Linked DNA regions of Homo sapiens: regions 1, 2, 3, 4, 5 and 6 are each linked to region 7. The links are contacts of gene promoters, found by promoter capture Hi-C in blood cells and fetal thymus (Javierre and others, 2016). All regions are on one chromosome and are shown on one strand. Each heading gives the region's core, a stretch centred on a gene start or on the middle of the fragment in contact. The rest is flanking DNA. Distances are from core to core; before and after follow the strand shown. Region 1 holds the start of MINDY3 (MINDY lysine 48 deubiquitinase 3). Region 2 has its middle 8.8 kb from the start of PTER. Region 3 overlaps SKIDA1 (SKI/DACH domain containing 1). Region 4 overlaps MINDY3 (MINDY lysine 48 deubiquitinase 3). Region 5 overlaps NEBL (nebulette). Region 6 overlaps MLLT10 (MLLT10 histone lysine methyltransferase DOT1L cofactor). Region 7 holds the start of NSUN6 (NOP2/Sun RNA methyltransferase 6).

The links. Contacts are between HindIII fragments. The CHiCAGO score rates a contact against its expected background, and 5 or more counts as called.
Region 1: the fragment with the promoter of MINDY3 here is called in contact with the fragment with the promoter of NSUN6 in region 7 in 9 of 17 cell types (naive CD8 T cells, total B cells, non-activated CD4 T cells and 6 more); the score reaches 20.4 in naive CD8 T cells.
Region 2: a fragment that was not itself captured here is called in contact with the fragment with the promoter of NSUN6 in region 7 in 2 of 17 cell types (non-activated CD4 T cells and total CD4 T cells); the score reaches 7.7 in non-activated CD4 T cells.
Region 3: a contact is called between a fragment that was not itself captured here and the fragment with the promoter of NSUN6 in region 7, in 1 of 17 cell types (activated CD4 T cells). The highest score is 6.1, in activated CD4 T cells.
Region 4: a fragment that was not itself captured here is called in contact with the fragment with the promoter of NSUN6 in region 7 in 3 of 17 cell types (total CD4 T cells, activated CD4 T cells and naive CD4 T cells); the score reaches 6.6 in total CD4 T cells.
Region 5: a fragment that was not itself captured here is called in contact with the fragment with the promoter of NSUN6 in region 7 in 1 of 17 cell types (M2 macrophages); the score reaches 5.8 in M2 macrophages.
Region 6: a contact is called between a fragment that was not itself captured here and the fragment with the promoter of NSUN6 in region 7, in 2 of 17 cell types (non-activated CD4 T cells and total CD8 T cells). The highest score is 5.4, in non-activated CD4 T cells.

Annotation. Positions count from the first base shown.
Region 1 is chr10:15,859,050-15,861,997 of GRCh38, reverse strand. It overlaps MINDY3 (MINDY lysine 48 deubiquitinase 3), which reads left to right and starts at 1,491. Exons shown (of 15, transcript NM_024948.4): 1 at 1,491-1,792. The coding sequence starts at 1,699. RefSeq lists an enhancer at 1,700-1,749. The HindIII fragment of the contact is 10,196 bases long and covers 1-2,948 here.
Region 2 is chr10:16,426,759-16,429,727 of GRCh38, reverse strand. No RefSeq gene overlaps it. Among named protein-coding and RNA genes, the nearest start is that of PTER, 8.8 kb to the left of the region's middle. The HindIII fragment of the contact is 9,091 bases long and covers 1-2,969 here.
Region 3 is chr10:21,521,574-21,524,433 of GRCh38, reverse strand. It overlaps SKIDA1 (SKI/DACH domain containing 1), which reads left to right. Exons shown (of 4, transcript NM_207371.4): 2 at 563-751. Among named protein-coding and RNA genes, the nearest start is that of SKIDA1, 2.7 kb to the left of the region's middle. The HindIII fragment of the contact is 1,892 bases long and covers 320-2,211 here.
Region 4 is chr10:15,824,524-15,827,265 of GRCh38, reverse strand. The region is part of intron 8 of MINDY3 (MINDY lysine 48 deubiquitinase 3); the gene reads left to right. All of the region lies in intron 2 of LOC124902383 (a long non-coding RNA gene), which reads right to left. Among named protein-coding and RNA genes, the nearest start is that of MINDY3, 35 kb to the left of the region's middle. The HindIII fragment of the contact is 8,423 bases long and covers 1-2,742 here.
Region 5 is chr10:20,853,641-20,856,405 of GRCh38, reverse strand. All of the region lies in intron 9 of NEBL (nebulette), which reads left to right. All of the region lies in intron 2 of LOC102725112 (a long non-coding RNA gene), which reads right to left. Among named protein-coding and RNA genes, the nearest start is that of NEBL, 42 kb to the left of the region's middle. The HindIII fragment of the contact is 9,153 bases long and covers 1-2,765 here.
Region 6 is chr10:21,547,796-21,550,784 of GRCh38, reverse strand. All of the region lies in intron 3 of MLLT10 (MLLT10 histone lysine methyltransferase DOT1L cofactor), which reads right to left. Among named protein-coding and RNA genes, the nearest start is that of MLLT10, 15 kb to the right of the region's middle. The HindIII fragment of the contact is 179 bases long and covers 1,161-1,339 here.
Region 7 is chr10:18,650,255-18,653,201 of GRCh38, reverse strand. It overlaps NSUN6 (NOP2/Sun RNA methyltransferase 6), which reads left to right and starts at 1,615. Exons shown (of 11, transcript NM_182543.5): 1 at 1,615-2,073. The coding sequence starts at 1,999. RefSeq lists an enhancer at 1,376-1,475. The HindIII fragment of the contact is 3,002 bases long and covers 1-2,237 here.

The sequences.
Region 1 (2,948 bases), core at 242-2,741, 2.8 Mb after region 7:
CTCTGACATGAAGGATAGGTAAGATTTGATTTGCAAAAACAAGGCAAGGGATATTCTAAAGGGAATAAAGATCAAAAGGAATGCTATGGCTCTACTACAGGCACTTTGGGCAAGTCCCTGTAATTACAGTAAAGGGTACTGAAGAAATAAAATTAAATTAATTAAAATAAAATTAGAAATAACGTATAAATAGGAAAAAATAGCTAGTAATAAAGCATAAATTAACAAAACCTTATTTGCAATCTAAAAGATTTTAAATTAAGGGTTAATTTTAATTAGCCAAATGCAAGGGTATTCTACAATGAAACTGCATGTTTTTGAAATTAGAGAACATAACGTATTATACTAAAATACAACTGGCTAGAATTTATGGGTAAAAAAGTCAGAACTACTGTTGCATCAAATTCCCACAAAATGGCTTCTTGAGGTAAAAAAAATACCCACTGTTGCATAAATGCCTTCCATGTGCTAGGAAGTACACCAAATCCTTTGTATGTGTTACTTTTTCCATTTATTCCTTACAATATATGAAATGTATGCAATCTCCCTTTTAGAAAGAAAAAAGCCTAGGTAGATAGTAGGTAACTTGCTAGTAAGTGCAAAAGGTAGGAATATGGGCCAGTATGACCCACAGCTTGGCCTCTTAACTATTGCATTACTGCATCCCAAAGTAATATGGTTTCCAAGGAGTACAGAAACCTTACAGAACCAAAATAAAAGCATGTATTTTTTTTTAAATCAGATTTTGCCCTTTCGTTTTAAATTCAAAGCTCGGGCAATACAAGCCCTCTTTTTTTAAGCAGCACAAACATAAGTTTTCACATGAACTCAATTTAACTGCTAGTTAATGAGTAAAACCTAAACTTTAGTCCAGGTGTTGCCCACACACTCTGCAGTGTCAAAAACTGGAGATGAAAATGCTGTAACATTTACAAACAGGTTGCTCTGAATTTGTTTCCCTACAAATACCTTGTAATTCTGCGTTGCAGCTGGTGGAAGCATTTCTAATGCACATTATGCCACATTCTTTGCCATGTTTTTAGGTAATAGTTGGTCTGACTTTGATTTATTGAAGTACAGAGGCGGACAGCCTCCAGCTTATGAGAAGCGCCCTACAAAGGCACGGATGTTACCGCACTGTGACTCAACTATTGCCTTATAGTTCTAGTTTTGCAAAATTAATATTGAAAAATACAAGCAATGGGCATATGTTCTAATTCCTAGTGCCTGGGCCTCAGAGCCTCCAGCTTAGCCCAGAGCAGTGCGTAGAGGAAGAAGGTATTCCTGGAGTTTAGAAACACGCCGACGCCCCTTCCCAATACAAAAACTACCACCCCACCAAAGGGTCCCAGACAGTTCAGAAAGGTCAGAAGCTACTTCCACCGCTTTCCGTGCCTGTTTCCGCCTCCAATTTCACTTCCGGGGAGGGGACTTCCGGGCCCTCAGCCTTAAGGGGCGGGAGTTAAAGAGGAGTCGGAAGTGGCACCAGCACTTCCGGTACGGAAAACTCGCTGCTGCCCCAACCTGGCTTGACAGGCTTGGTCTCTGCAAGTGGCTCTCAGCCCCTTCTTCTTTCCTGCCTCACCTTCCAATTCGTTTGCCGCCGCCGTCCCGCAGCTGCTGTTTCCGGAGTTGCCCCTTCCCCATGTTCCGGGGCAGGAGTCCGCAAAGCGAAGATCCGCCCGCCGGTTCCTCATCATGTCCGAACTGACTAAAGAGCTGATGGAGCTGGTGTGGGGCACCAAGAGCAGCCCCGGTCTCTCGGACACCATTTTCTGCCGCTGGACGCAAGGTACCCTGGCGGGGCTCTCACACTTGCAGCCGCTGCTTCTTTTGCCCTGCGAGAGTCCGCCTGTGACGCCTCTCGCTCCAGCCCCTCGCGTGCCCCGCTCTCTGCCCCAGTCGCCGTGCTCAGCGCTGAAGCTGGACTTTCTAGACACGCCCTGCCTTGCCTTGGTGGGGAGAGTTTGAGTAGGAGAATGGTTACAGCTGCCACTAAATACCCGCAGCGCTCTTTCCATCCTCCGGGCTGCCCTTCGGCTGGGGAGGAGGAGAGGGTGGCCCCTTGCTGGGTTGCAGGGCGTGACACGGAAGATGCGCCCCGTGCCCCGGTGTCACTTTCTCAAGGGGTGCTGTGGCCTTCCGCATCTTTACCCCCTAACAGAGCTGTCTATTGGTGGTGGTTGGTCTATTTTTGGTGAGAAGGAGGGACGTCCAAGGGAAAGTCCAAGTGGCTAATTCCAAAAAGCAGTTTTTTGTTTGTATTGTCATTATGTGGTTAGGCGTGGTAGTCTGTGTATAAACACTGTTATTTGCTAAAAAGTGTACTCTTGGCCCAAAGTATCCCCGTTTTTTATATGGTTTATTATCTGTCACGGTTAAAAAAGGAATATGGATCATAGTACTTCCTCGGCCGGTATGCTTGTAACCCAGACAGGACTTTTACTTACATGAAGAGTCTTAGTACAAATAATAATGAAATAAAATAAGCATTTATTGAATTCTTGCACTGTAACAGGCTGGGCGCTTTATACTAGTAACTATCCCTAATTCTTAAGTTTGGATAGGCAAACAACTGACACATTCCTAAAGGTGACTTAGGAAAGATGATGATGAGGTTAAAACATAACCTTGAGTCAGAAGGATCAATAATTTATGTATGTAAAACACTATTATTATTAAAACATCTATTTAGGGAACACCTGTTCCCGAAATAGATTGGGCGGAATTTTGGCATAGTAAATATAAACCCCTATTTCAAAACGTGTATTTTGTAACAAAAATTCAGGATTTACGTAATCTCTCCCTCCCTCCCACATGTTTGTTTTAAGAGCTGGTAAAATTACAATTACGATGTATTGTTAAGTTGGGATATTTAGTCCCTCACTGTTGCTTTGCAGGCGAAAAAAATTAGTTGTAAAGGTAAATGACTGGGCCAAAGTTGCACA
Region 2 (2,969 bases), core at 419-2,918, 2.2 Mb after region 7:
CCAGCCAATGGGATGTGGGAGAAGTAGACATATTCCTTCCAGAACCAGCCCATCAAAACCATCCTTCCTCTCTTTGTTCATCTGTGGGCTGGCTAAAGCGAATTCTCTAGGACCTGTAGAATGCAGCTGCAGGAGGGCAGGGGGCTATATTTGAAGAGCTGTGTGGAGCAGAACCCTCCCACCAACCCTAACATCTGATGTAAATATAAATGATATAAATAAAAGATGTAGGCCAGGCATGGCGGTGCACACCTGTAATCCCAGCTTCTCAGGAGGCTGAGGCAAGAGAATCGCTTGAACCCAGGAGGCAGAGGCTGCAGTGAGCCAAGACCTCACCACTGCACTCCAGTCTGGGCAACAGAGAAAGACTCTGTCTCAAAAAAAAAAAAAAAAAAGAAAGAGAGAGAGAGAGAGAAAGAAAGAAAAATGTAGTTTTATTGTGGTAAGTCACTGAGATTTGGGGATTATTTGTTACAGCAGATAGCCTACCCTAATTAATATGGTATTTGTCCTAGTAAGAGAATTTGAAGAACCTGTATGCAAATTGAAAGCCACCTTTCTTTAACAAGCCATTAATAACTAATATTAAATAGGTCCCAGGATGACTTCCAAATCCTTGGGAGAATTATTTAAATACTAGAGGCATCTATTAGCACACAATAATGTGATTATTGGTCTCTAATAAATACAATGTTGAGAGCTGGATTAATTAAACAGAAGGAATGAAACTCTCAAAATGATGGCCGGGAAGCTATTTATTAACTGGAAGCTCGAGCATGTGTGTCTGTGAAGAACGCCAAATGGTGGTGTTCCCATTGTTGAAAAACAATGTGGTCTGGAACCAAACATTGCAAGGATAACTTGAATTTATAAATCAAATTCCTTGACTTTTTATCTTTAAGTAATATGAATAATTTGTTTTCATTTGAAGGTCTTCTAAAGAAATTTTTCTGCCATGGAGTTAGTTAAAACTTCTAATCAGAAACTTTGTTTAATACTGTTTTTAGGCCGGGTGCAGTTGCTCATGTCTGTAATTCCAGTGCTTTGGGAGGCTAAGGCAGGAGGATCACTTGAGTCCAGGAGTTCAAGAGCAGCCTGGGCAACATAGGAAGGGCCTGTCTCTACAAAATGGAAAAACTAGACATTAGGCAGGCATGGTGGCACGCACCTGTGATCCCAGCTACTCGGGAGGCTTAGGTGGGAGAATCTCTTGAACCTGAAAGGTCAAGGCTGCAGTGACCCGTGATTGTGCCACTGCACCCCAGCCTGAGCAACAGAGCAGAGACCCTGTCTCTTAAAAAATAAAAAAAAGTCCTGTTTTTGATTGCACTATGTAAGGAACACAGGCCTTGGCAGCTTTAGTTACTAAAGAACTCCTCTGCATGTGTAGTTTGCAAAATTGTGTCACTTAGTAAATATTACCAGGATATATAAAAATATCTAGGATATATAAAAATATCTAGGATATATAAAAACATCTAGGATATATAAAATTATATATAAAAATAAAAATCATAGATACAATATATAAAAATTATGTTGCAGCTAAAATAACCAAAGAGTTTGATTCAATCTCCTAGCTAGAATAAAGGGGAACTATCAGAGTCTTGTCTTTGGAATGAATCTCCTGCCAGGGTGTGCTGCATCATGTGGATTCTCTGTGAACACGGGGGACCAGGCGGTGTAGACCAGTCCATTGGAAAGTAGCTCTGCAGTCAGATAGACCTGACTTCAATTTCTGGCTCCTCTCTTTTCTTGCTATGAGAACTCTTAATATCTCCGAGCTATGGTGTCTTCATATAAAGTGGGGATATTATTACATTGCCCTGGCCAACTCCAGGTTGTCTCAAAGATCCTTTTCCCTTTTCTGTCACACAACTAATTTAGTGAGGTTCATGGCCTCCCAGTTAAAGATGACATTGCCCAGCCTCTCTTGCAGCTAGGCATGGCCCTGTGACTAAGAAGATTAGGTGCATATCCCACCCCACTGGGAGACGATGAGAATTGAAGAAGCTGCCTGGAAGCCAGAGTTTAAGTGTTGAGGATGGCAGAAACCCTGTACCTTCGTAGGACTGGTGTGGGAATTAAATGACACACAATATGAAAGTGTCTTATTTGGGGTCTTTAGAAAAACACTGTGGAGTTTGCCAGACAAGAGAGGGTAATTAGGATTTAAGTACAGAGAAGTCAGAAATAGCAAACAGAATTGACTAAATAATCTGCTTTTAACTGAGGTCAGGAGTTCGAGACCAGCCTGGCCAACATGGCAAAATCCCATCTCTACTAAAAATACAAAAATTGGCCAGGTGTGGTGGCACGCAGCTGTAATGCCAGGTACTCGGGAGGCTGAGGCAGAAGAATTCCTTGAACCCAGGAGACAGATGTTGCAGTGAGCTGAGATCGCACCACTGAACTCTAGCCTGGGCAACAGAGCGTGGCTCCATTAAAAACAAAAAAAAAAAGCTGGGGATGGTGGCTCACACCTGTAATCCCAGCACTTTGGGAGGCCAAGATGGGCAGATCACCTGTGGTCAGGAGTTCGACACCAGCCTGGCCAACATAGTGAAACCTTGTCTCTACTAAAAATACAAAAATTAGCCAGGCGTGATGGTGCCGCACCTGCAGTCCCAGCTACTTGGGAGGCTGAAGCAGGAGAATCGCTTGAACCCGGGAGGTGGAGGTTGTGGTGAGCCAAGATCATGCCACTGCACTCAAGCCTGGGTGACAGAGGAGACTCCATCTTAGAAAGAAAAAAATAGTTCTTTTAGACAGAAGGGTAGGTGGGACTCAGGGTGTGGTAGCCTCAGCAATCACCATGCACGGAGCATCTGCCAGAAGCCCAGGATCCAAAGGTCAGGAGGAAGGATCCAACACCATGACTGCGGGCAGGAAAACCAAGTTATCAGTGCCCTGAATGGAGAGTCTAAGTGCAATGATTTAGGAATCTCAGTCAATATAGTGTCAACAAC
Region 3 (2,860 bases), core at 16-2,515, 2.9 Mb before region 7:
CACCACATCACCAAATAGTATTTGCCAAGAAATAATAGATATGTCTTTGAGAAAAAAAAATTTTTTTAAGTTTATACTTAGCAATGCGCTGCTTAGACAGATGTAGTAAAAGGCAGGTTTGTATCGGCATTTAACGGAATGAGTGCGTTTTCCATAACGTTTGTTGTGCCATGTGTTTTTTTAAAACACAAACAAAACACTACCCCAACTGAGAAAGGAAATAGAAGTTTGAATTAAAATGTTGTGGAACAACTTTAAAAGAGACGTTTACTTGAAATTTATTAGTGTAAAAATTGGCCTCAGAAGTGAAAAGTAAGCTTTTCAAAGTTAAAAGACTTAATTTTCACCCTATGATTCCATAACAAAAAAGCGAATTTTCTGGTTAATATGTGATACTGTCAGTGTTGAGTGTCCAGTCTTTTGGGTCTTAGTGTCCAAACCTTGCTCAAATCTGATTATGATGTGATTTGCTGATGTCATGAATATGAAATGATACTTGTGTATCCATAAATTCGAACTTGTGATTTTTTTTTTTTTTTTTTTATCTCCCGCTTTTTTGTAGGTTCCCAGTAGCTGCAGCAGTGAAAGACAGTGATTGGCTCCAGTGCTCCCAGAAGGATTTGGGCTGAAGCCAGGGGAACAGAACCAGAAGAGGATTCCCTTTCCAGAGACCATCAGGCTCCTCATGTCTTGTCTCTCCTCTCTCCCCTCGTGGTGGCTCAGGATTTCAGTATGGCTGAGCAGCCCATAGGTAGGCCTCAACACTTGGTGTCACCACTTCAGTCTCTATATGTTTGGCCCTTGTGTAAAATAAACAAAAACTTGGGCAACCCTAACAAATTGTGGTTCTGGATATTTGTGTATTATTTAATATCTGAAGGTCAAACTCTACTTTCTCTGATTTTTTTTCTTTTGCATTCAGGATCAATTGTGAAAGGCCCATGTGTCTCATAGGAAAATATTACAACAAAACAAGATAATTGGGGGGAAAGGCGGTTGCAGTAGGAAAAGTGGCTTTTCTTTGATAGCATTTAATTGGAATTAAAAGATTCTTGAGCTGTAAACATTCTTTATTTATTCAGCACACATAAGCAGGCATTGTTTTATCACCATCATAATTATGGTGTCCTTTAAACTGGCTGATAGCAGGAAAGATAAGGGAATGTGCCCACAGATTCAGATCAAGTCTCACTCCTTTCTTTTCCTCCCTGCCCCCTTCCCCCCACCCCATTCCTTCCTTGGTCACTAGGGTCCCCCACAGCCCTTGAGATGAGAAGAGCAGGAAGATTGTGGCCTAGCCGTTTCTTACATCATGAAAGTGATTTGTACCTCACTCTAATTTGATGCAATCTATAACCTCCTTGTCTCCTATGTTTATAACTGGTTTTTAGCTTGCAATATATGTTATCTGGAGGTGCCTATTGCTCACCTGTGTAAAATCTCATCCACTAGGATTTGTTGCTTTACCTTTGTCTAATTTAGAAAGCACACTCTTAGGGCTTTTTCAGAACAAAGCCTCACAAAAACCCCTTTACCTCCAAGGATTTGCAAATTTATAAAGGCTGCATTGAATTCAAGATGGGTCAGGGGGCAAAAAAAGGGTAGAAGGTCACTGCATTTTGATTATGGGTCAGTAGACAACATGGCATATACCCTGTGTCCCAAACTTCTGTTAAAGACAGGGTTTTTAAATGCCTAAGAACAGAGGGATGGGCCCTTTTGGAGACTTACCCTGATTTGTTCAAATGAACCAGAAAGAAAAAAAATTAAAGGAAATATACTAAGTTATCATTTGTTTCTCAATTTAGCCATTTTCTACTCCTTCATTCCCATTTTCCCATCCCAAAAAGCAGAGAAGATGTGATATTAGATAAACTTAGCTAAAGAACTGTTGAGATTTTATTGTCTTATATCCTCAACTAATTCAGCCATATGAGACTTTATTATTATTTTAAACTTTTATCTTGTGAATATTATAGTTACTTTTAGTTAATAGCACAAGGGGCTTTTATTCTTTTAACCAGCATACTTACATTGTTGAGGCCTTTGTGATGTTCCTTACTCTTTTCTGTCTGAATTCACTTTGAACAAAATGTGCCCAGCAATCACTAAAACAAACGTATATGGTGAAGAGCTGGTGGCGGGGGGGGGGGGGGGGGGGGGGGGGTGGCTGTGATCCTCATTTAAATTATGTATGTATGGGTGAAAGCTTGGAAGGAAAAGGATTATTTTAATGCTCTTCAATACTTTAATTATATGACAGTTGTAGTGTAGAAATGCAAAAGTACTCTTAGGTTTTCCTTCAGGTTTTCAAAAGAACTTTCCCCATTAGTAAACTACTCCTGCAAATTGCTATTGCATTTCCCAGCTAACCATTTAAAAGACTGTAAATGCCGTGTGCATTACTTCGCTCCAGAGGAAAGAGGTCAGACTGAATTGCAATGGTATTGAAACATAAAATACAGTGAAAATAAATCAAAATAGAGCATCTAAAGGTAAATCTAGCACATTCATATGGGATAAGTAAAGACAAATATGTTCATATTTTCATGGCCCTTCACTTTAAAAACTGAAAGTGCTGATTTTTTACAATAAATGCAGAAGTAAGTGGACATTAGGAATATATTTCAATCTCTATTTGCTAAAGAGGATTTTCCTTTTGCAAGCAGCTTTGTTTTCAAAGCTAAAGCACTTTTTACAATAGTGTGTAGATTAGGCATTCCTCACTGAGTAAATAATCACATTTAATTAAACTCAATGCATATCATACATGTGCCTAAATTCACAATAATTTCCTGGACCCACAGAGAAGGATATATATATATAAATGTTAATTTGGACATATCTATCTACATATGTA
Region 4 (2,742 bases), core at 135-2,634, 2.8 Mb after region 7:
CTGGCTGGCTTTCATATTTATGAGGTTAAATCATTTGGTCTTTTTTTTAGATGGCTTCTATTTGGGCTTTTTTTTTTTTTTTTTTTTTTACTCCTGTTATATCAATTTTATGTGTCTCCCACCCCCAGATTTTTTATTTTCATTTTTTAGAGACGGGGTCTCGCTCTGTCACCCAGGCCATAGTGCAGTAGTGCAGTCATAGCTCACTGCAGCCTCTAAATGGGCTCCAGTGGTCCTCTTGCCTCAGTCTCTCAAGTAGCTGAGACTACAGACGTGCACCATCATGCCCGGCTCCACCCCAAGATAATATTCTCTAGTATTTTCCAAAAATGCTTTTGTGGGCTTTTTGTTTTTTAATGTTTGGCTCTTTAGTCTATCTGGATTTTGTATTTATGAATGGTATGAGTTTGGGATCTGCCTTTTGACTTTTTCTCAAAGAATTATCTAATGTCCTAATTCCAGTCAGTTCTCCACAGATAGGAAATACGTTTTTTGTTGAACACATTTTTCCATATTTACATGTTTTTATTCTATTCCACTGATCTTTTTGTGACTTCTTATGCAAAACTTCACAATTACATAGTTTTATAATATACTTTGATATTCATTAGCATGTTTCCTGATGTTATACTTTTACAAAATTGTCATAGTCTTTTCTACATTATCTATTCCAGTTGAACTTTCCTCCCAGCTCTTCAAGTTCCAGTTTTAAGAAATCTTTGAAGATTTGGATTGGTTACATTATATTTGTAGGTTATTTTGAGGAAATTATATCTTTACATATTATCTTCCCAACTAGATTGTTTTGTACATTCTTTAGTGAAAAATATTCAGTGTTTTATATAGATTATATGGTCCTGAATCCATATACTTGATTCTACCCCAGTTTTTGAAACCATCTTTTGCTTCTCCAATAGAACAGAAATAAGCTGCAGTAGAACTAATCAAATTAAATGCATTCTTGCCCACTCTTTCACAGGGGCTAGTGTGATATTTTTCAAACTCAGTGAGATCATGTTTCTCTCTCCCTTAAAACCATTCGATGGCTGGCTTCCCTACGCACTTAAAATAAAATCCAAACTCCTTCTAAGGTTCTCAGATCCTTTTGTGGTCTTTCTCCTCTCTACCTGCCATCCATCTTCATTTCGTACTATTCCATGTATGTTGAGCTAAAGTTTTCTTTGATTTTGATTTTCTGTAGATTAATTTTGTCATGGTCTCTTTTTTATCTTAAAGGAATTCTTCAGTATTTGTACATTATTTTTGTCCATATTGTTTATTTATTTTTGTATGCTTATTTGATGATTATTTTTATTTTATAATTTTCTTTATGGGATAGGGATAGAAGAGTCAACTCTTGTAATTCAGAAACCCAGAAGTTTCTTGGTTTTTTGTGGGTTTTTGTTTTGTTTTTATAAAAAGAAATCAGTATTACAGCCAGTCAAATGCATAGCTAATTGAAAGATGATGGACTCATACACAGAATAATGCATATGTTAATTAGCTCAGTTTAGCCATTCTACAGTGTATACATATTTCAAAACATGTTGTACACGGTAAATATATACAACTTTAATTTGTCAATTATAAAATAAACAGAAACGGATATTATAGTTAGGCCAAAAAATAGTCATGTTTCTCTGGTGCTTGTCTGGTTATATTCCACTTAATATGTGGAACTCCTAAAAATGCAGTCAGAAACTGAATGAGTTTTGATGGTTTGTTTCATTCTCTTTTATATAAGATAATCAGTTAGGCTGGGTGTATTGGCTTGTGCCTTTTAATCTCAGCAGTTTGGGAGGCCAAAGCGGGAGGATCACTTAAGGCCAGGAGTTTGAAACCAACCTGGGCAAGAAGGCAAGACACCGTCTCTGATAATAAAAGATAGTAAATTAATTCTGGCAAAGAAAACAAGAATATAATCACAAAGTAATTTGAATTTTTTTGCAAATGTAGAGTACATGCTTGGGACCAGAAGCATTTAAGATTTCGATTTTTTTCAGATTTGGAAATATTTGCATTTTTCCTCACCAGTTTAGCATCCCTAATCTGAAAATCTGAAATCCAAAATGCTGTAATGAACATTTCCTTTGAGAGTCATGTTGGCTCTCAGAATGCTTCAGATCTTGGAACATTTCGGATTTCAGATTTTCAGATTAGGAATACTTGAAAATAGACACTTTCAAGGCTTATTGAGAAAGTCTCCTACAAATAAATTCTATAAATCGTAACATGTGAGAATATTAAATCCTCACTGTATTACAACTTGGCATAAAAGTAAATTTTCCTAGTGTGATGCTCTTGAAACTATCATAAGAAGGTAAAAATGTTAAGTATATATTCTGTTTAAGAAAACAGGCATAATACATTTTTAAAATAATTACCATCCAGACTAGATGTCTAAGCATGTGTTTACTGATCAAATCTAAATAGTTCATTACCCAAGAATTATGAACAACTAGTTTGCTGTATTTAGTAACATGATATTATTATTAGACATTTGTTTAAAAGTCCAGGGAAATAGATGATGTAGTATCTAATTGTAACACTAGGTGGTGGTAACTGATTTTAGAAATTAAATTGTGAAACTGTTTCCCAATGTATGTATTCTTTTTTACATGAAAACATTTAGTGTTGCTTACATTTAAGAAGGAAAGGGAGAGAAAAGTTTGCGAAGATATGAAGTATCCATTTATACCTATTTGGGCTGTTCTTCTCCTCTCCCTTGTTTTGCTTTAACCT
Region 5 (2,765 bases), core at 156-2,655, 2.2 Mb before region 7:
TAAAAATATCATGGTGGTAATTTCAACATTTGGTGGCTGGAAGAAAGCGTGCCACTCCTATGCAATATTGCTTTTCAAGAACGTTGACCTTTATTTTATAATAACAGAGAAAAAAATCGCAGTCTAATATAAATTGTTTCTATCATCTCTTCAACAGAGAAAACACAGCAAAGTCATACGTTACTTATTTCATGTATCATATATAAAGTTTAGATCTTCATTTAGGTGGTGCTTTTGCCTAGAGGACAGATTTCTTTTTCCCCATAGACAAATTGTGATTGACTACTTCCTGGGAGAGAAAGACTTAAAAATGTGTTCCTTTTGAAGTGTCTCCTTACAAAGTTGTGTACATTGTATAAAGCTGTATACATTTGCTCAACTTTATTGTATATTAGAATGGCCTCCTTTATCTAGCATTTGTGAAGAAACAAAGAATAGCCTACTTTAACATTTTAATGTAAAAAATTGGAGTTGTGTTGATTTATAAATTAAAAGATTGAATAAGATTGCTCAATAAGAGATATTCTGCCAAAATTATCCATTTGTCACAGTAGCTATTGTTTTAAAGACCCCTAGATGTCTTTAGCAACATCAGAGTTACTTTTATTTTAACCCAAACTCTAAAGAGTGATATGAGTGCCTTAATTACTGTGTAAAATCATTCTAATTAAAGTTTTGGAAAACATTTTCCCCTGGAAAATGGACCTCTGGTAGTGTTGAGTTTCTTTCACAACTTTACATAAATTAAGAAATATATATTTTGTGTTACTCCGTGTATCTCCCACTAGGAGGTAGCAGAGACTGTTATATAAGGAAAGACACGCATTCGAAGTTCTTTTGCAGATCTTAATTCAATTAAGTTTTCCTTCGTTTTTTTTTTGTTTTGTTTTGTTTTCTTAAATAGGAGTTTCTGAAATTCTTTGTAACTAAAATCGATAATTGTGTTGGGAACAATATTTACTGAATTTTTCAGTATATATTCATTATTTTACATATATTTATATGTATTTGTTGTGGATTTTAACTCAGTAATGGACTATGTTGTAGCTTGTTACATTCATGATTATTTTATAAATACATATTACAAGATAACTTCTAATCAAATTATAAAGTCTGTATTATTATCTTTCTTTCCAGATTTTAACTGGTTAAAAAAAAAACACTTTTTTTTTTTTTTTAAGACGGACTCTCGCTCTGTCTCCAGGATGGAGTGCAGTGGCACGATCTCAGCTCACTGCAACCTCCGCTCCCAGGTTCAAGCGATTCTCCTGCCTCAGCCTCCTGAGTAGCTGGGACTACTACTACTAGGTGCACCCCACCACTCCCAGCTAATTTCGTATTTGTAGTAGAGATAGAGTTTGACCATGTTGGCCAGGGATGGTCTAGATCTCTTGACCTCATGATCCGCCTGTCTCTGCCTCCCAGAGTGCTGGGATTACAGGTGTGAGCCACCGCGCCTAGCCAAAAAAAGGCTTTTTTAAAAAAACATTAGAGGAGCCAAAATTTATAACTTGTTTCCTTCCATCACGATGTACTCTGTGGGCTAGGTGCAGTAGCTCCTGTCTGTAATTCCAGCATTTTGGGAGGCCAAGGCAGGAGGATGGCTTGAGGCCAGGAGTTTGAGACCAGCGTGGGCAGCGTAGTGGGACCCTAGCTCCACAAAAAATAAAGAAATTAGCTAGGCATGGTGACATGCACCTATAGCCCCAGCTACTTGGGAGGCTAAGATGGGAAGATTGCTTGAGCCCAGGAGGTCAAGGCTGCAGTGAGCCATGATCCCTCCACTGCACTCCAGCCTGGGTGACAGAGCAAGACCCTGTCCAAAAAAAAAAAAAAAAAAAAAAGTACTATATGAACATTTTCATGTCCTTCCTGGGGGGTGCTTTCCTCCCTGATTTTATTCTGGTTAGGTTTGGGGGAACATATATTGCAGCTCCCTAATTGAGTGGAAGCACCTGAGGCCAGGCTCCCTCTGGGGACTATTGCTTTGTCCCACTAGAAAGGGTAGCTCTCTTGTGGCAGGCCACTTGGTCATCTGTTCCATTCCTAGCACTGAGCTTTCTTCCTCTTTCACTCTGAAATCCCTGGAGTATCCCCTAAGATCAAAATGCAAATTTCCTTATGGCCAGCTCTTTCCCGCTCCCTTTCAAATACTGTTTTTGGATCCCTCCACTCTATTGCCATTTTTACTGGTACCCCATTGTCTAATAAGCAGCTATCTTTAGCTTCTTAAGTCTCTGTAGCCTTGAGTCTTTAAGAGCTACCATTTACTACTAAAGGTCTTTTCCAAATAAGGCAAAATAACAAAGTGTCCAATCTCCAATGATAGAAATCATGAAATAATTATTTTTAAAATTTTCTAATTTATAATTGTTATTGATACATAATGGTTGTATATATTTATGGGGTAAATGTAATGTTTTGATACAGGCATACAGTGTGTATTGATCAAATTAGGATAATTGAGGTATCCATCAGTTCAAGCATTTGTCGTTTCTTTCTGTTAGGAACATTTCAATTCCACTCTTAGTTATTTTAAAATGTACAATAAATTATTGTTAACTATGGTCACCCTATTGTGGCATTGAATACTAGATCTTAAACTCATTCTCTCTAACGGTATTTTTGCACTCCTTAACCATCTCCACTTTATCTCCTCTCCCCACCACTCTTCCCAGCTGCTGGTAGCCATCATTCTACTCTGTCTTCATAAGTTCAGCCTCCCGAGTAGCTGGGGCTATAGGTGCATGTCACCATGCCCAGCT
Region 6 (2,989 bases), core at 1-2,500, 2.9 Mb before region 7:
TGAGTCAGGCAAATCACTTGAAGTCAGAAGTTTGAGACCAGCCTGGGCAACATGTGAAACCCCCGTCTCTACTAAAAATACAAAAATTAGCTGGGCTTGGTGGCACCCATCCGTAGTCCCAGCTACTCATAAGGCTAAGGAAGGTGAATCGCTCCAACCCAGGAGGCGGAGGTTGAAGTGAGCTGAGATTGCATCACTGCACTCTAGCCTGGGTAACAGGGCAAGACCCTGTCTCAAAAACAAACAAAAAGCTAAAGGAATCAGTATTAAATTGAAGCTGGGGCAGTTAACGAAGCTATCAGAAACAATACCTTAGAGGGTAGGACTGACTATGACAGCAACATAGACTAAAGATATGGAGAAAAGCTCTAACTGGGTTCCCTATATAAGGACAAGAGCTGATAAGGATCCATGTCATAACAGGAAGAGACTCTAGAAAACCATGTGCTGGACTACTAAGACTAGGGAAGCTGCACAGAAATTAGATGCTTGCTCCAGATGTGAGTAGATGACTCACTCTAGAAATCCAAGGGGATACTGAGGGAAGGTATGGGGCCCAAAATCTATTATCTAAAGGATGTAGAAATCCAAGCCAAGAAACAAACTTAGAGACTGGCCTGGAGCAATGAACCCCATTAGGCAAACTGTAACAGACTCTGCAGCTACCAATCCAAGTCTATTTTCTCCTTCTTCCCTACTAACAGAACTCTCACTTTAACCAGTTTATCAATGGGCCCAACTTTATGACCACATTTTGCAGGCTCAGTAACAATTAAGAGCCAGTAAAATTAAGCCTAAGTTGTTGAGTGGAGCCTCAAGGACAATTAGTTTAAGAGTACAACTCAGAGCTAGGCGCGATGGCTCACGCCTGTAATCCCAGCACTTTGGGAGGCCAAGGCGGGCAGATCACCTGAGGTCAGGAGTTTGAGACCAGCCTGGCCGACATGGCGAAACCCCATTTCTACAAAAAATACAAAAATTAGCCAGGCATAGTGGCACACACCTGTAATCCCAGCTACTCGGGAAGCTAAGGCAGGAGAACCCGGGAAGTAGAGGATCGCGGCCACTGCATTCCAGCCTGGGCAACAGAGCAAGACACTCTCTCAAAAAAAAAAAAAAAAAAAAGAGTACAACTCAGTTAGAGGACCACACTTGAAGCTTACCCTCTCCCCTTCTTTCTGCCTGGGACTTCTTTTGTAGTCACAATGACTGCAGTTCCAGCTGCCATGCTTTGACTATGGGATAACCCTGAACATGAAAACTATGTGCTAAGGCTGATACAGAAGGAAGATAGAAAAAGCATACTCCCTAGTGACTTAAGAGAGCTGTCATCGAAGCTTCAAAATGCCTTTTGCTTTTAAGTAAAAGAATAACTGGACGGGTGCAGTGGCTCACGCCTGTAATCCTAGCACTTTGGGAGGCCAAGGCGGGCGGATGACGAGGTCAGGAGATCGAAACACAGTGAAACCCCATCTCTACTAAAAATACAAAAAATTCGCCAGGAGTGGTGGCACATGCCTATAATCCCAGCTACTGGGGAGGCTGAGGCAGGAGAACTGCTTGAATCCGGGAGGTGCAGGTTGCAGTGAGCCGAGACTGCGCCACTGCACTCCAGCCAGGGTGACAGAGCAAGACTCAAGTCTAAAAAAAAAAAAAAAAAAAGGAATAAGCTCCTGACTTGTAGAAACCATTATAATCTGGTCGGCCAAACACAATTCTTAAAAGACAGAGAGCAAAGGCAAAAACCCCACAGTGACATCTTCACAACTCATGGTAGAGGAACAGGAATCCCAGGAAAGACAACTCCACCTGAAGATTAGCCTGCAGTCAAAAATTACACAATATATAAAGACATCTATCACCAGAGTTAACAAAGAATTCCAAAATCTGAGAATCTTTACAATAAGTATGTTTTAAATGTTCAAATAAAAAAACGAATATAATTCTTCAAACAATAAAGCAAGATACCCTGAAAAAAGAGACAAATTGAAAAATAAAATCACACAAAAATTCTAGAAATTTACTCAGAAAAAAATTAATTCACTGAATTAAAAATAAGCATAAATCTGAAGACAGAGTTAAAGATATTATCAGTAATGCAAAGATAAGACAGAAAGGCCGGGCACAGTGGCTCACACCTGTGATCCCAGCATTTTGGGAGGCAAAGGTGAGTGGATCATGAAGTCAGGAGATCAAGACCATCTCGGCTCACATGGAAAAACCCCGTCTCTGCTAAAAATACACAAAATTAGCCGGGCGTAGCGGCGGGCACCTGTATTCCCAGCTACTTAGGAGGCTGAGGCAGGAGAATGGCGTGAACCCGGGAGGCGGAGCTTGCAGTGAGCCGAGATCGCAACACTGCACTCCAGCCTGGGCAACAGAGGCTCCGTCTCAAAAAAAAAAAAAAAGATAAGATAGAAAATATGAAAGACAAATTAAAAGACATGAAAAACAGAATGAAAATCCCAAACATATACCTAACAGTTCTAGGAAAAGAAAAGTTAATGAGAAGGTTACAGTATTTGAAGAGACAGAGTAGAAAATAAAAAATGGAAGGACACTGAGTCCTCAGAATGAAAAAGCAGACCAAGTCTCAAACAGGATAAACAAACTCAAAAGATTGTTTATCAACCAACAGACACCAGAAGACAAACTAGAATAAAATCTTTAGTTACAGGAAAATAGCTATTATCAAAGGATTCAAACTAGCTTCCAAGAGAGCAAAATAATGAAATTCGTAGACACAAAAAGACTAATATAACTTTCTTACTTATTACTTACTAGCCTCAGACCCTGAGAAAAAAATACCAAAACCTTCAAAGTAAAAAAAATGAACCCACAAACAAGGAAAATAAAAGGCTAGATTGAACAAAAACATGAGTAATATTAAGCCTAATTATAAATAACTATTTTTTTAAAACACACGATTATTTAGAAGATTCAAAATAAGACGCACAGTGGCTCACGCCTGTAATACCAGCACTTTGGG
Region 7 (2,947 bases), core at 366-2,865:
GATAAAGTCTCTATCCTTGTGGAGTTTAAAATGTAGTTCAACTTGTTTCTCCTCCTTTATCGCTAAAATACAGATTCTAGCCATCAGTGGTGCTATGGTCACCATGAAATTCAGGCTACAGAAATTCCTTTGGAAATGTCTGATTTAGACATTTATCACTTTCAGATGTTTTAGCCATGAAAGAATCTCATGGATTTATTGAAGAAATATGCTATGGTCAAGGACAAGGTATTGGCTCTAGAAGCCAAATTACTAGTCTTTATCCTGGCTTTTTATTTGTGAGAACATGGAGAGTTGTTTCAACCCTAGGAACCTTGATTTACTCTTTAAAACAGAGAAAATGGGCTGGGCGTGGTGGCTCACGCCTGTAATCCCAGCACTTTGGGAGGCTAGAGAGTCAGATCAGTTGAAGTCAGGAGTTTGAGACCAGCCTGGCCAGCATGGTGAAACCCCGTCTCTATTAAAATTACAAAGATTAGCTGGGCCTGGTGGCACATGCCTGTAATTTTAGCTACTCGGGAGGCCAAGGCAGGAGAATCTCTTGAACCAGGAGGTGGAGGTTGCAGTGAGTCGAGATCCCACCATTCCACTCCAGTCTGGGCGACAGAGACTCAAAAAAAAAAAAAAAAAAAGAGCAGAGAAAATGATAAACAACTTGCAGGTTGTTGTGTGGTATAATGGTCATTCATTATTTTCTACTCTTTCTGGTAAAGAGTTGGTGTGTCATGGAAAGTACCTGTTCTATGTGTGTGTGTCTGTGTGTATAATTCGGTGTGAAAATTAAAGAGAAAAAAACAATAAAAAACCCTTTCCTATACTTATGTGTAAATTACCATGGTGTGCTGCAAAAAACATATGTCAAGGTGATAGAATTATTTTGACTTTCCTGTACAGTTATAAAATGACTCAGTGAGTTTGGTTAGATATCCTCGTTCTTTGAATCTATATCCTTGTCTGCTTATGATGAAAAAAAAGAAAAAAAAATAATGGCGAGGGTCTTCCAAACTCTAAAGAATATGTCAACTATGATACAAGTAGCAGTTAGCCTTATAACTAACTGTAAACACTGTCTGTGGGTTTTAAGTTTTACCTGAGCATTGGATATTAACAGACCATTAGCCCAACTTTCAAAAATATGAACCCTATGAACTTCACAACTGAAGTCAGATCTGTATGCCTGAGAGAGGTAAAATCATGTCATGAAATCAAACGGTGGCTGATGCGCCCAAATTCTGGCCTCATCCTCTAACTGGAGGACATCTGGCAGGACAGCAACTGGGCTGTGCCTTTTTTCAGTCCAGCAACATCTTCCACTCAACCCACGCCATTTGGCTGTTTCCCCATTGCCCCTGGCACCTAGCCCTCCGGTACCGGGAACTAAATATCTTTGACCATCCCGCCCGCGGGGTCTGCCTACTTAACCTGAGGCAGGTGAAAGAGCCTCACGCAGGGTTAGGAACCTCCGGGGGCGTGGCGTAGCGTAACGCAGTGTTGGGGAAACTTGCGGCTGTGGATTGGGGGACCGGAAAGGGAGGGGTGGGCCGCAGGCGCCGGACGTGACGTAAGCCGGAAGCGACTTTCCGCCGAGAAATAGGGGGCGCGTGTTTGGAAATTGATAGAAAAGATAAAGGGACCGAGCTGCTGTCAGCCTGGCTTACTGATCTGCGTCCGTTTCACCACGGATTCAGTTACTAAGCATTTTTTTCTTTTTTTGGTTCTTTGCAACGTGAGTGGCATTGGCTCAGTGATTTCCATGAGCATCTCTACCAGAAAACATTGCCTCGATGAGGTGTGGTGGAAGCCCGGCAGCCCCTTCTAATCGGCTAGGCTTGAGAAAGCGTGTACCTCTGCATTTCCGAAATTAACTCAGCGTGATCGGCAAGATTTTCCTCAGCATCTGGTGTCAAGACACTCGTCACTATTAATTCGGAAAGAAAAAAAAAAACAAAACACCGTTTTCCAGCATTTCTCTTGGTGGAGAACTAAACAACAGGAAAAATGTCTATTTTCCCTAAGATATCTTTGAGACCTGAGGTTGAAAACTATCTTAAGGAAGGCTTTATGAATAAGGAGGTAGGTCAAGTAAAGATGTTAGTTGATATTTTGCAAAAACTCAAATATTCGCACACTCGAGAGAAATAGAAATAAGTATAAAGGGAAATCTTGACAGCCGTCGTTCCTTACTACTTGTCTATCAAGTGTAAAAATACCAATATGTTTCTACAGGTATTAAAGCTTACTGAGATACGAAGTGAATAAGGTATATGTTTTAACATTTAGGAGTGGAAAAGAAGGGAAAAAAGGCATGTGCCTGTCAGGCATGGCACAAAGGGTTACAAGGATGAACAAGAAAAGGTCCCTGTCTTCAAGAACTCGAATCGAATTTTAAAAGAGCGCTGGCTCTGGCACTCAGGTGAAAAGGTTTCTGTAATTTGTTGAGTGCCTCTTAAATGCCAGCAGTTGTGCTAGGAGATTTGCATCTTTAATCTTCACAATCTTTTTTTTCTTAGAGGTTTTTCCTCTTTTAATAGACTTGAGCAGAAAACTGCTCAAGGAATTGTGTAACTGATCCAAGTTGACACAGCTATCAAGTAACTATTGAAATCTGGAGGGAAAGAGTTCAGGTGTAATGAACAAAGGTACAGCTTTTGAATCTCAGGCACATGATTTGCATTCTAGTGCTTTGTAAATTACGTGGCTTAACCTAGATTTTTCTCTTCTGTGAAAAATTGAGAATGGTTAAAAATATCTTGCCAGGTTGTTTTAGGATATTAAACGTAAGTGAATACAACTAGCATTGTTTTGGCATGTAAGTCCTCAAAAAATGTTAATTTTATTTGCTAAAGTCCTCAGTAAATGTTGATTATCTTTGATTGCAAAGCCTGTTGTCTATTCCATTTTACCATGCTGCCTCTAAGCAACTTTGTTTTTTTTCAAATCTTTAATT